2 separate regions of the Homo sapiens genome follow, and region 2 is linked to region 1. Evidence: promoter capture Hi-C in 16 types of primary human blood cells and fetal thymus (Javierre and others, 2016). All regions are on one chromosome and are shown on one strand. The core of a region is centred on a gene start or on the middle of the fragment in contact, and the rest is flanking DNA. Distances in the headings are between cores, read along the strand shown.

Region 1 (5,908 bases), core at 1,939-4,438:
ACTTTGGAGGCTGAGGCAGGAGAATCACTTGAACCCAGGTGTCGGAGGCTACAGTGAGCCAATATCATGCCGTTGCACTCTAGCCTGGGCAACGAGAGCGAAACTCTGTCTCAAAAAGAAAAAAAAAAACCCTGTTAACCTAAGAATATATAAGAAACCAGCGGCAAACACTATTCTTTTTTTATTTTTATTTTCAGGGAAAGGGTCTTGTTCTGTCATCCAGGCTATAGTGCGGTGGCGCGATCATAGCTCACTGTACCTTCAAACTCCTGGTCTCAGGTGATCCTCCCATCTGGGCCTGCCAAAGTGCTGACATTACCAGCAAGAGCCATTGCAGCCAACCTAGCAGACACTATTCTTTTTTTTTTTTTTTTGAGACAAAGTTTTGCTCTTATTGCCCAGGCTGGAGTGCAATGGTGCCATCTAGGCTCACTGCAACCTCTGCCTCCTGGGTTCCAGTGATTCTCCTGCCTCAGACTGCCAAGTAGCTGGGACTACAGGCATGCACCACTACTCCAGGCTAATTTTGTATTTTTAGTAAAATGACGCGGTTTCACCATATTCACCAGGCTAGTCTCGAACTCCGGACCTCAGGTGTTCTGCCTACCTCAGCCTCCCAAAGTGTTGGGATTACAGGTATGAGCCATTACACCTGGCTTACAGACACTATTCTTTAACATTTTTTTTTTTGAGACGGACTTTTTGCTCTTGTTGCCCCGGGCTGGAGTACAGTGGCATGATCTCTGCTCACTGCAACCTCCAGCTCCCAGGTTCATGCGATTCTCCTGCCTCAGCCTCCTGAGTAGCTGGGATTACAGGCATGCACCACCACGCCCAGCTAATTTTGTATTTTTAGTAGAGACAGGGTTTCACCATGTTGATCAGGCTGGTCTCGAAGTCCTCTACTTAGGTGATCCACCCACCTCGGCCTCCCAAGTGCTGGGATTACGGGTGCGAGCCACCGTGCCCGGCCACAGACACTATTCTTGATAATGCAACATTAGCGGCATTCCCACTAAAGTCAGGAACAAAGCAAATACTCTCTTATTCGACACTATTATTGCTCCCATTTAACATCATTCTGGAAGTTCTAGCCAATGAAAGAGATAAGATATAGGTCATGTAAATTTTGGATAGGAAGAAAATGATATTTACCTAGAAAATCCAACATAACTAAAAAATGATTGGAACTAGTAAAAGCATCCAACAAGATGGTAACTCTAAGACCTAAGACTTTCTGCTATAAGTCCCACTATCCTGAAAGTAGGCTTCTTTTTTTTTTTTTTTTTTTTTATTGAGATGAAGTTTTGCTCCTGTTACCCAGGCTGGAGTGCAATGGCGTGATGTCAGCTCACCGAAACCTCTGCCTCCCAGGTTCAAGCGATTCTCTGGCGTCAGCCTCCCGAGTAGCTGGGATTACAGGCATGCACCACCACACCCAGCTATTTTTTTGTATTTTTACTAGAGATGGGGTTTCTCCATGTTGGCTTGGCTGGTCTCAAACTCTCGACCTTAGGTGATCCGCCCGCCTCAGCTTCCCAAAGTGCTGGGATTACAGGCATGAGCCACCGCGCCTGGCCTCAAGTCTCATGGGAGATGTAATCTAAGGGGCCCTCCCTAATGAAAACAAGGATGTCTTGGGGAGGTTAAGAAAAAGTGTAGGCGAGGATGTGGTTGAGATGGTTCTTGGAATCCATCCCGGGTCCCCGTACTTTAACACCAGCCCTTGAAATATGGGTGCAGCTCACACACACGAATGTGTGTATACACCTTGGAGTATCTCTGGAGCTCATGCATGCACGTCCGTCACAAAGGATTTGAAAGGGAGAATCAGATGAGACGCTGAAAAAAACACCTGTGGACTCCATGATTGGGGGCGGCATCGGAGGGTTTTTTTGTTTTGTTTTTTAGATCAGGTCTCTCCCTGTGTCGGCCAGGCTGGAGGGTAGTGGCTACTCACAGGCAAGTCCACGGCGAGGCCACTACAGCCTCATCTTCCTGGGCTCAGGCGATCCTGCCTCAGCCTTCTTAATAGCTGAGACTACAGGAGCGCGCCACTGCGCCTATCTGCAGTGATTTTTTGTTTGTTTTGAAACGGGGTCTCAGTCTGTCGCCCAGGCTGGAGTGCAGTGCCGCGATCTCGGCTCACCGCAACCTCCTCCTCCCGGGTTCAAGCGATTCTCCTGCCTCAGCTCCCCAAGTAGCTAGGATTAAAGGTGCGCGCTACCATTCCCGGCTAATTTTTGTACTTTTAGTAGAGACCCCCGTCTCTACAGTTTCACCATGTTGGTGAAGCTGGTCTCCAACTCCTGACCTCGAGATCCGCTCGCCTCCGGCCTCCCAAAGTGCTGGGATTACAGGCCTGAGCCACCGCGCCCGGCCTCTGCTGTGATTTTTTTTTTTTTTCTTTTCGAGAAGGAGTCTCACTCTGTCGCCCAGGCTGGATGCAGTAGCACGATCTCGGCTCACTGCAACCTCCACCTCCCAGGTTCAAGCGATTCTCCTGCCTCAGCCTCCCAAGTAGCTGGGATTACAGGGGCCCACCACCATGCCAGGCTAATTTTTGTATTTTTAGTAGAGATGGGGTTTCACCATGCTGGCCAGACTGGTCTCGAACTCCTGACCTCAGGTGATCCGCCCGCCTACACCTTCTAAAGTGCTGAGATTACAGGCGTGAGCCACCACGCCCGGCCTGCAGTGATTTTTAAAGAGTCTTTTATATTTCCTTTAACCATTATTTTCAACACGCAAATAACTCTTGAAAATACGTTCTTGTTTTGGAAAAAAAAAAACGGGGGGGAATGTATAAAATAAACAACGAGAAAAACTTCTCCCATTCCCAACGTAATCATGGCTATCGTGTGTATGCTTCCAGGACTTTTCTTTTTACATAAAGACAGTGCATGCTTTTGTTTCGTGCTTCACATAAACGCCTATCCCATCTTAAAGATGGTTTTACAACCTGCTGTTTTACGACCTGCTGACTTGACGAAGTGTCGTAAAGTCCCGTCCACTTCAGCGTCTTTCCCACCGCAGCACGAAAGGCCACGCAGGCCGTTCTAACCCTGGCGGCCAAGAGGAGGGGTAGCAGGCTCTGGAACCTGCGGGCGGGGACGAAGACGGCGCGCGACGATGTCGCACCGCGGCGTGCGCGGTGTCGGCAGTAGCTGCGGCGCAGGGGCGGAGCGAAGGCTGCGGCGGCGTCGGGTACGCGCACACGTTGCATCTTCTTCCTTTCGCGGGGTCCTCCGTAGTTCTGGCACGAGCCAGGCGTACTGACAGGTGGACCAGCGGACTGGTGGAGATGGCGACGCTCTCTCTGACCGTGAATTCAGGAGACCCTCCGCTAGGTAAGGGGCCGAGACCAATGACCTGTGTGGGTTGCATCAGCCAGGGAGGGTGCAGGGCGTGGAAGGTCGCTGCGCCCCGGCTTTGCGCAGTGGTGGTCACCATCTGGGATGTTGGACCTGCCCCTCGCCCCAGAATTGTACGTGGAGGAGGCTCCGCACCCCTCGCCCCGTGTCCCCGGCAGGTGCATCTGCTCCTGAAGATGGTTTTCCCGGGCATGGAGGGAGGCGCAGTGTGAGCCCGGGCTAGACAACACGAGACTCCGCTTCGGATCTTTTTCTCAGAGGGATGAACTCCCAGTCAACTCACCTCTCCCTTTTTCCCCCGGAGAGCGAGAGTTGCTCGTGGAAATAAGATTTTAAAACTTAAAATCCAATAGTCGTCGCTTCTCTTTTAGCATTTTTCCCCCAACTCCTTTTCTTACCTCCTTTCCTGTCCTGTCCCTCCTCTCAGGAGAAATCCTCAGTTCACTTGAGTCAAATTTTCCTTACGTTTTATCGAGTTCAGAAGAAATAACCCAGACGAGCATATTAGCATTTAGGATTTCAACTGAGGCTGCATTTATTTTTAATTAAATGTGGTAGGGTAATTGGGGAAAACACCCAGGTACACTGTAGACTGATGCGGTTGCTTTTACTGCACCCTGTGGATGTGTAGTAAATTTCAGAGTAAACATTGGATCTGTCACCTTACTGACACATCTTAAGTTCTGTTTGGAATTATTTTTTCGACATGACCAAGATTATTGTTGGTAGATTGCTTAGAATTTCTGCTTTTTCATTACTTTGGGAAATTACACAGAAGAATTTAAGTAGTTTGCCGATTTTTTTTTTTCTTTTGAGAGTCAGGGTCTTGCTCTATCGTCCAGGCTGGAGTGCAGTGGCGCTTTCAAGGCTCACTGCAGCATCGAACTTCCGGGCTCAGATGATCCTCCCACCTCAGCCTCCTTAGTAGCTGGGACTACAGGCGCGTGCCACCATGCCTGGCTAATTTTGTGTTTGTGTCTTTTTTGGAAAGATGGCGTTTCACTGTGTTGCCCAGGCAGGTCTCAAACTCCTGGGCTCAAGCCATCCTGACTTGGCCTCCCAAAGTACTAGGATTACAGGCGTGAGCCACAGTACCCAGCCTGACCTAATATTTGTTAATGCATATGTATGATAATACACACACAGTACTTTCTAATGTTGAAGAAGCCCATACCTTTATATACAGTTGACCACGTGGGGCTGATGAAATTATTCATTATATTCTCAACTTTGGTGATGTTTTAAGGTTGTTGAACAAAAACACAACTTAATAGCCATTTTAAACATTTAAAAGATGGTAATGTTTTGGCATATTGGTTGCAGTAATGGACTAACCGCACAACAAATCAATGAACTCTAAAAGGAATGGGTTTGATTCCTGAGCTGGAAAGGCATTAGAGTGCCTTCATGATTGAGAGCAAAGACATTTGGTTTCTGCAGACCTGAGTCCAATCCTGGCTGCCACTTACTAGTTGTGAAACCTTGACAAGTTCCTTATTTAGCTTCTCCCATAGTTTCCTTGTTTTAAGAAAGGGAGAATAATGTCTTCCAGATAGGATTGGTTGCCAGAGTTAAGTGAGACTATAGTTAAAGCTCCTGATACTGTTTTTTTTTTTTTTTTTTTTTTTTTTTTTTTTGGAGACCGAGCTCATTGCAACCTCTGCCTCCCAGGATCAAGCAATTCTTGTTCTCAGCCACACGAGTAGTTGCGCTTAGAGGTGCGCACCACCATGCCCGCCTAATTTTTGTATTTTTTAGTAGACACAGCATTTTGCCATGTTGGCCAGGCTGGTCTCAAACTCCTGACCTCAAGCAGTCCGCCCGCCTTGGCCTCCCAAAGTGCCAGGACCACAGGTGTGAGCCACCATGCCCAGCCTCCTGATACATTTTTTGTTACTTAGAAAATCACCCTGAAGGTGGCCTGTTTCTGTAGTGTATTACAGAACTCAGAATTCTGCCAGTATTCTGTGAAACTCTTGTCATTTTGAACTGTATGCCAGTTATCAAATATATCATTTTTCTAATTGCTCCTCTCCCTTTTTAATTTTTGATTTAATTATTCCCAGTTTAATTCAATTACATTTTATCTTTAAGTAATATAATTAGATGAAACATTTTAAAATAATAGTTGCATTGCTAGAATTTTCCTATTTTGTATGCATTCATCATGTTATATATTTAATGTTAATTTCAAACTTAAAATAAAGACCTTTTTCCCCCATACCACCCAAGAGCATACTGTAGATATGAGGCTTCAGTATCTCAGCATAACTCCAGTGTACATCCCCAACAAACTTGGAAACTCCAGGTGATCTCACACAAGCACCCAAATCAGGAAATACACTTGGATACAATGCTTCCATCTAATGCACAGACCCCATCCTTGTTCTATCATTATTTGTTACAACCAGACCCTCCATAGTGTTGAGATCAAAATCCCGTATTATGCTTTGTTTGCATCTGATTGTCACCTCTCTCCAGTTTCTTTCAGTCTGGAATGGTTTCCTAGTCTTCCCTTGGCTTTCATAGCTTTG
Region 2 (5,908 bases), core at 2,219-4,718, 7.0 Mb after region 1:
CTTGCTATTTCTACTACATCTGTTGTTACTACCCCCACTGAAGTCTTGAACCCCTCAAAGCCAACCATGAGGGCTGGAATCAACTTCTCTCAAGCTCCTGTTAATGTGGAAATTTTGACCTCCTTCCATGAATCAAAATGTTCTGAAAGGCATCTAACATGGCAAATCTTTTCCAGAAGATTTGCATCAAAGATGGTGACTCCTTTCTAGAAGGTTTTTAATTTACTTTCCCCAGATCCTTCTGTGGCAGCTATAACCTTAGAAAATGTATTTCTTAAATGAGGGGACTTGAAAGTCAAAATTATTCCCTGATCCCATGGGCTGTAGAATGGATGTTGTGTTAGCAGGGATAAAATAACATTCAACTGAGAGCTCTTGGGTGACCAGGTGTATTGTTAATGAGCATAACGTTTTGAAAAGAGTCTTTTTTTCTAAGCACAAAAGTGTGCTTAAAATATTCAGTAGACCATGGTATAAACTGATGTGCTGTTGTCCAGGCTTTGTCTTCCATTGATAGAGGACAGGCAGAGTAGATTTAACAGAATTCTTAAGGGTCCTAGGATTTTCAGAATGATCAATGAGCATTGGCTTCTACTAAAAGCCACCAGCTCCATTAGCTGCTAACAAGAGACTCAGCCTGTCCTTTGAAGTGTTGAAGCCAGGTATTGACTTCTTTCTAGCTATGAAAGTCCTAGATGGCATCTTCTTCCAACAGAGGCTGTTTCATCTGCACAGAAAATCGGTTGTGTATTATAACCACCTTCATCAGTAATCAAAGCTGCATCTTCTAGATAACTTGCCGCAGCTTCTCCAACAGTACTTTCTGCTTCCGCATGCACTTTTATGTTATGGAGACAGCTTCTTTCCTTAAACCTCATGAAGCAACTTCTGCTAACTTCCAACTTGTCTTCTGCAGCATCCTCACTTCTCTCAGCCTTCATAGAATTGAAGAGAGTTAGGGCCTTACGCCGGACAAGGCTTTGATTTAAGGGAATGTTGTAGCTGGTTTGATCTTCTATATAGACCACTCAGATTTTCTCCATATCAGCAATAAGGCTGTTTTGCTTTCTTATCATGCCTTCATACACTGGAGTAGCATTTTTAATTTCCTTCAAGAACTTTTCCTTTGCATTCACAATTTGGTTAACTGTTTGGTGCAAGATGCCTGTCTTTGGGCCTATCTCAGCTTTTGTCATCCCTTCATTAAGCTTAATAATTTCTAGCTTTTGATTTAAAGATCTGTAACTCTTCCTTTCACTTGAACACTTAGGCACCATCGTAGGGTTATTAATTGGCCTAATTTCAATATTGTGTAGGGGACATGGAGGCCTGAGGAGAGGGAGAGAGACAGGGAATGGTTGGTCAGTCAGCAGAGCAGTCAGAACACACACATTTGTTAAGTTTGCCATCTTGAATGGGTGCAGTTTGTGGTGCCCCAAAACAATTACAATAGTAACATCAACGACCGCTGATCACAGATCACCATAATAGATATAAGAATGATGAAAATGTTTGAAATATGCGAGAATAACCAAAATGTTATACAGAGAAAGAAAGTGAGCACATGCTGTTGGAAAAATCGTTATCAATAGAATTGCAAAAGGGAGGGTTGCCACAAATCTTCAATTTGCAAAAAACAGAGTATCTGTGAAGCATAATAAAGTGAAGCACAATAACACAAGATATGCTTCTACAAACCAAAGAAAAACACACAATTACTGGAGAAGAAAATAAAAATTAGAAAAACAAAGACTCAGCAACATGCTTTTGCCATTTTAGATTTATCTCTGGGAGCAAGAAAATTGCCAGAACTCAGGCAATCCATGAAGTGTACTTTTACAGTGATAAAATTCACCTGCCTCTGTCAGATGAATACATTGGGCATCTTGGTGGGAACTACTGAACTTTTAAAAGATAATTTTCCAAAAAAAAAAAAAAAGGTAAAATCATGACTCTCAAACAGATATAATACGAACACATTAGTCATTTTATTTTATTTATTTTGAAACGGAGTCTCACTCTGTCACCCAAGGTGGAGTGCAGTGGTGCGATCTTGACTCACTGCAACTTCCGCCTTCTGGATTTAAGCGATTCTCATGCCTCAGTCTCCCAAGTAGCTGGGATTACAGGCATGAGCCACCACACCCAGCTAATTTTTGTCTATTTTTAGTAGAGACGGGGTTTCACCATGTTGGCCAGGCTAGTCTTGAACTCCTAACCTCAAGTGATCCGCCTGCCTTGGCCTTCCAAAGTGCTGGGATTACAGGCGTGAGCCCCTGCACCCAGCCATTTTATTTAACTCATTACATAGGTGAACCAGACAGATGTTATCACCTGTTCAAAGGAGAATCCAAAGAGCAGACATGTTTATAGATCAGAAATATTGATCTTGCAAATGGTGCAAAACTGGCTTTTTTGTTGTTGTTGTTGTTTAATTTATTATTATTATTATTATTATTATTATTATTATTTGCGATGGAGTCTCGCTGTGTCGCCCAGGCTGGAGTGCAGTGGCGCGATCTCGGCTCACTACAACCTCCATCTCCCAGGTTCAAGCGATTCTCCTGCCTCAGCCTCCTGAGTAGCTGAGATTACAGGCATGCCACCACACCTGCTAATTTTTGTATTTTTAGTAGAGAACGGATTTCACCATGTTGGTCAGGCTGGTCTCGAACTTCTGACCTCGTGATCCTCCCGCCTCAGCCTTTCAAAGTGCTAGGATTACAGGTGTGAGCCACTGCAGGCAGCCAAAACTGGCTTTTCCATAGAGATGGAGAGTTCTCCCCCCAACTAGGTAGAATTATTTTACAAGTCCATAGACAAAAATCATTTGCACTGCCACAAGCGCCCTGCAAGTTAACTTTAATCTTTGCAATAGTCTAGGCCCAGATAAAGGCAAATATCTTTTAGGATCAGATAAACCCCCAAATTCCAACACTGCATGAAAAGATATCTATTAATTTCTTTTACTTATTTAAAAATGTTACATTTCTCCTTACCTCTTAGGGTGTGCTAAAGGAAAAAGCTTCTGGTCATTCACAAGTCCCAAGTTCTGGCCCACTGTTAACCATTCATTCAAAAATATTTTTACTACTATATATTGTGTACTTAGCACAGCACTAGGTCAAGTAAATTTTGGAAATAATGAGTCATGGTCTTTCCTCAGAAGTTATTTACAATCTCATTATAAAGACAAGACATACAGTAAACTACTAGTCAATTTAATGAACTACAAAATTGTGAGTACAACTAGAAAATAGGGCAGTATAAAACAGAAATACAGTCTTTCTCCATTATTTGTGGATTCCATATTTGCAAATTTGCCTACTTGCTAAAATTGATCTGTAACCTCCATGTATTCTTGGACATGTACAGAGCAGGGAAAATTTTTAATTGCCCAAAGTGCACATTCCCAGCTGAGGCTAAACAAGGCATTCTCTGCCTTTTTGTTTCAGCTCTCATGCTATACCATAGTGTCCCCTTGTTGCCAGGGCTGGAGTACAGTGACACTATCTTGGTTCACTGCAGCCTCGCCCTCTCGGGCTAAAGTAATCCTTTCACCTCAAATTCTGGAGTAGCTGGGACTACAGACGAGAGCCACCATGCCCGGCTAATTTTTGTATTTTTTGTAGGGACGGGGTTTCGCCATGTTGTCCAGTGTGGTCTTGAACTCCCTGGCTGAAGCGATCCAGCCGCCTTGGCCTCCCATATTGCTGGGATTACAGGCGTGAGCCATCAGGACCAAGTGTCCTTTTCACATTCCATTTAGTGATATGTTTTTCACGTTTTTGTACTTTTTGTTGATGTTGCTGTTTAAAATGGTCCCCAAGCGTTGTGCTGTATAGTGCTCCTAAGCACAAGAAGGCTGTCATGAGCCTTGCAGAGAAAATAGCAGTGTTAGATAAGCTTTGTTGAGGTATGAATTATAGTGCTGTTGACTGAGTTCAATGTTAATGAATCAACAATATATATTAAATAAGATGTCTTTAAGCGGAAACACACATACAACAAAACTATGTATTGATTAAGTTGATGAAAATGCGACCAGAGGCTTACAGGATCCTAATCCTGTATTTCCCTTAGGAGTAATGATTCAGTATTTACTAATTCAGTGTTTCCAGCAACTTTACAGAACCTAACTACTGCAAATAACAAGAATCAATTACATACTGAGGGAAAGGTTTTTTTCAAATACACTTTACTTCCTTTTATGCACCAGGGATAAGAAAAGCCTTCCCAAGAAATTACCACTGTTTCAAAGAGCCTATAAAAGCAGTGCTCCTGCCTTCTAGTATCCTTTTCCCCTCTACTCTCCACACTTTATTCTTTCTCGGTTTCTCTCTTCCTGTTTCTTGCAGGGTCTCCACTTAAATAATGTCTTTCAACAATCTACAGTCCTATAATACATTTAATAAAGGTGGACACACAAGACATACAAGTACTTTTTTTTTTTTTTTTTTTTTTTTTGAGACGGAGTCTCGCTCTGTCGCCCAGGCTGGAGTGCAGTGGCTCGATCTCTGCTCACTGCAAGCTCTGCCTCCCAGGTTCACGCCATTCTCCTGCCTCAGGCTCCCGAGTAGCTGGGACCACAGGCGCCCGCCACCACGCCCGGCTAATTCTTTGTATGTTTAGTAGAGACGGGGTTTCACCGTGTTAGCCAGGATGGTCTCGATCTCCTGACCTCGTGATCCGCCCGCCTTGGCCTCCCAGAGTGCTGGGATTACAGGCGTGAGCCACCGCGCCCGGCCCATACACGTACATTTTAAAGTGAGAGCTATGGCTGTGCTTCCGCAACATTAATTGCAAAATTCTGTGGTACCTCAGTTCCATGGGCACCCAGAGGATGCGTTGTTCAGCCTCAGCTGGGAATCTGCACTTTGGGCAATTAAAAATTTTCACTGCTCTGTTTATTTCTGCCGGGCGCGGTAGCTCACTCCTGTAATCCCAGCACTTTGGGAGGCCGAGGCGGGCGAATCACTTGAGGTCAGGAGTTCGAAACCAGCCTGGCCAACATGGTGCAACCCTGTCTCTACTAAAAATTCAAAAATTAGCCGGGTGTGGTGGCTCATGCCTGTAATCCCAGCTACTTGGCAGGCTGAGGCAGGAGAATCGCTTGAACCCGGGAGGTGGAGGTTGCAGTGAGCCGAGATCGTGCCATTGCACTACAGCCTGGGCGACAAGAGCGAAACTCCATCTCAAAAAAAAAAAAAGAAAGAAAGAAAGAAAAAGAAAAAAAAGAAAGTTTATTTCTGTTTCTTTAAGACGAAGTTCGGGTGTTTTGCCCTCTTCAGAAATGGTTGCACGCGCGTCCCACGCTCTGCGCATGCTCCTTGAGCAGAATTCCGGGTTAAGGCATTCAGGGACTCTGACTGCGCAAGATGGAGTGTAGGCCGGCCGGCGAGACTGCACCTCCCAGCATGCCTTGCAGCCAGGACTGGAGTCGGTACTTAAGAGTGATGGGGTTCCCTAGATACTTTAGGCCGTCGCATCGATTATAGAGATTGAGGTGGAACCCGGGGCCTGGGAACTGGACGCACGCGGAGGGCGAAGATGGAAGCCTGGCGCTGTGTGAGGAAGGGCTACGGCCACTGTGTGGTGGGAAGAGGCCGGTCAGTAGGGCTGGGTACTCGGAGGGAGGAGAGAGGGGCGGGCGGCCTGAAAGAGCGGGCGGGCGTCCGGGACTAACCCGGGGCGGGGCGGGGCGGGCTAGGGGTGGAAGGAAGAGGAAGAGGGTCTGGGCGATGGTGCATCCGGGACGAGCCTCCAGAGACCAAGCGGGATAGGTAAACCCGCCGCGCAGCTGGCGGGACGCTGGGCCAACGAGGTCTGGGGTCTTGGCGCGGAGTTCATGGGCCGCCGGCCAGGCTTGTGCCAGTGGCTTTGGATCCCTGGCCTGCTTCCCCCAACC

What was found. The method cuts DNA at HindIII sites, captures the fragments that hold promoters and counts their contacts. A CHiCAGO score of 5 or more calls a contact.
Region 2: a contact is called between a fragment that was not itself captured here and the fragment with the promoter of EPRS1 in region 1, in 1 of 17 cell types (activated CD4 T cells). The highest score is 5.2, in activated CD4 T cells.

Annotation. Positions count from the first base shown.
Region 1 is chr1:220,043,785-220,049,692 of GRCh38, reverse strand. EPRS1 (glutamyl-prolyl-tRNA synthetase 1) reads left to right here and starts at 3,188. Exons shown (of 32, transcript NM_004446.3): 1 at 3,188-3,350. The coding sequence starts at 3,305. RefSeq lists enhancers at 2,977-3,046, 3,107-3,436, 3,478-4,035. The HindIII fragment of the contact is 10,455 bases long and covers 1-5,908 here.
Region 2 is chr1:213,015,314-213,021,221 of GRCh38, reverse strand. It overlaps ANGEL2 (angel homolog 2), which reads left to right and starts at 5,355. Exons shown (of 9, transcript NM_144567.5): 1 at 5,355-5,609. The coding sequence starts at 5,551. RefSeq lists enhancers at 5,320-5,629, 5,342-5,908. The HindIII fragment of the contact is 881 bases long and covers 3,028-3,908 here.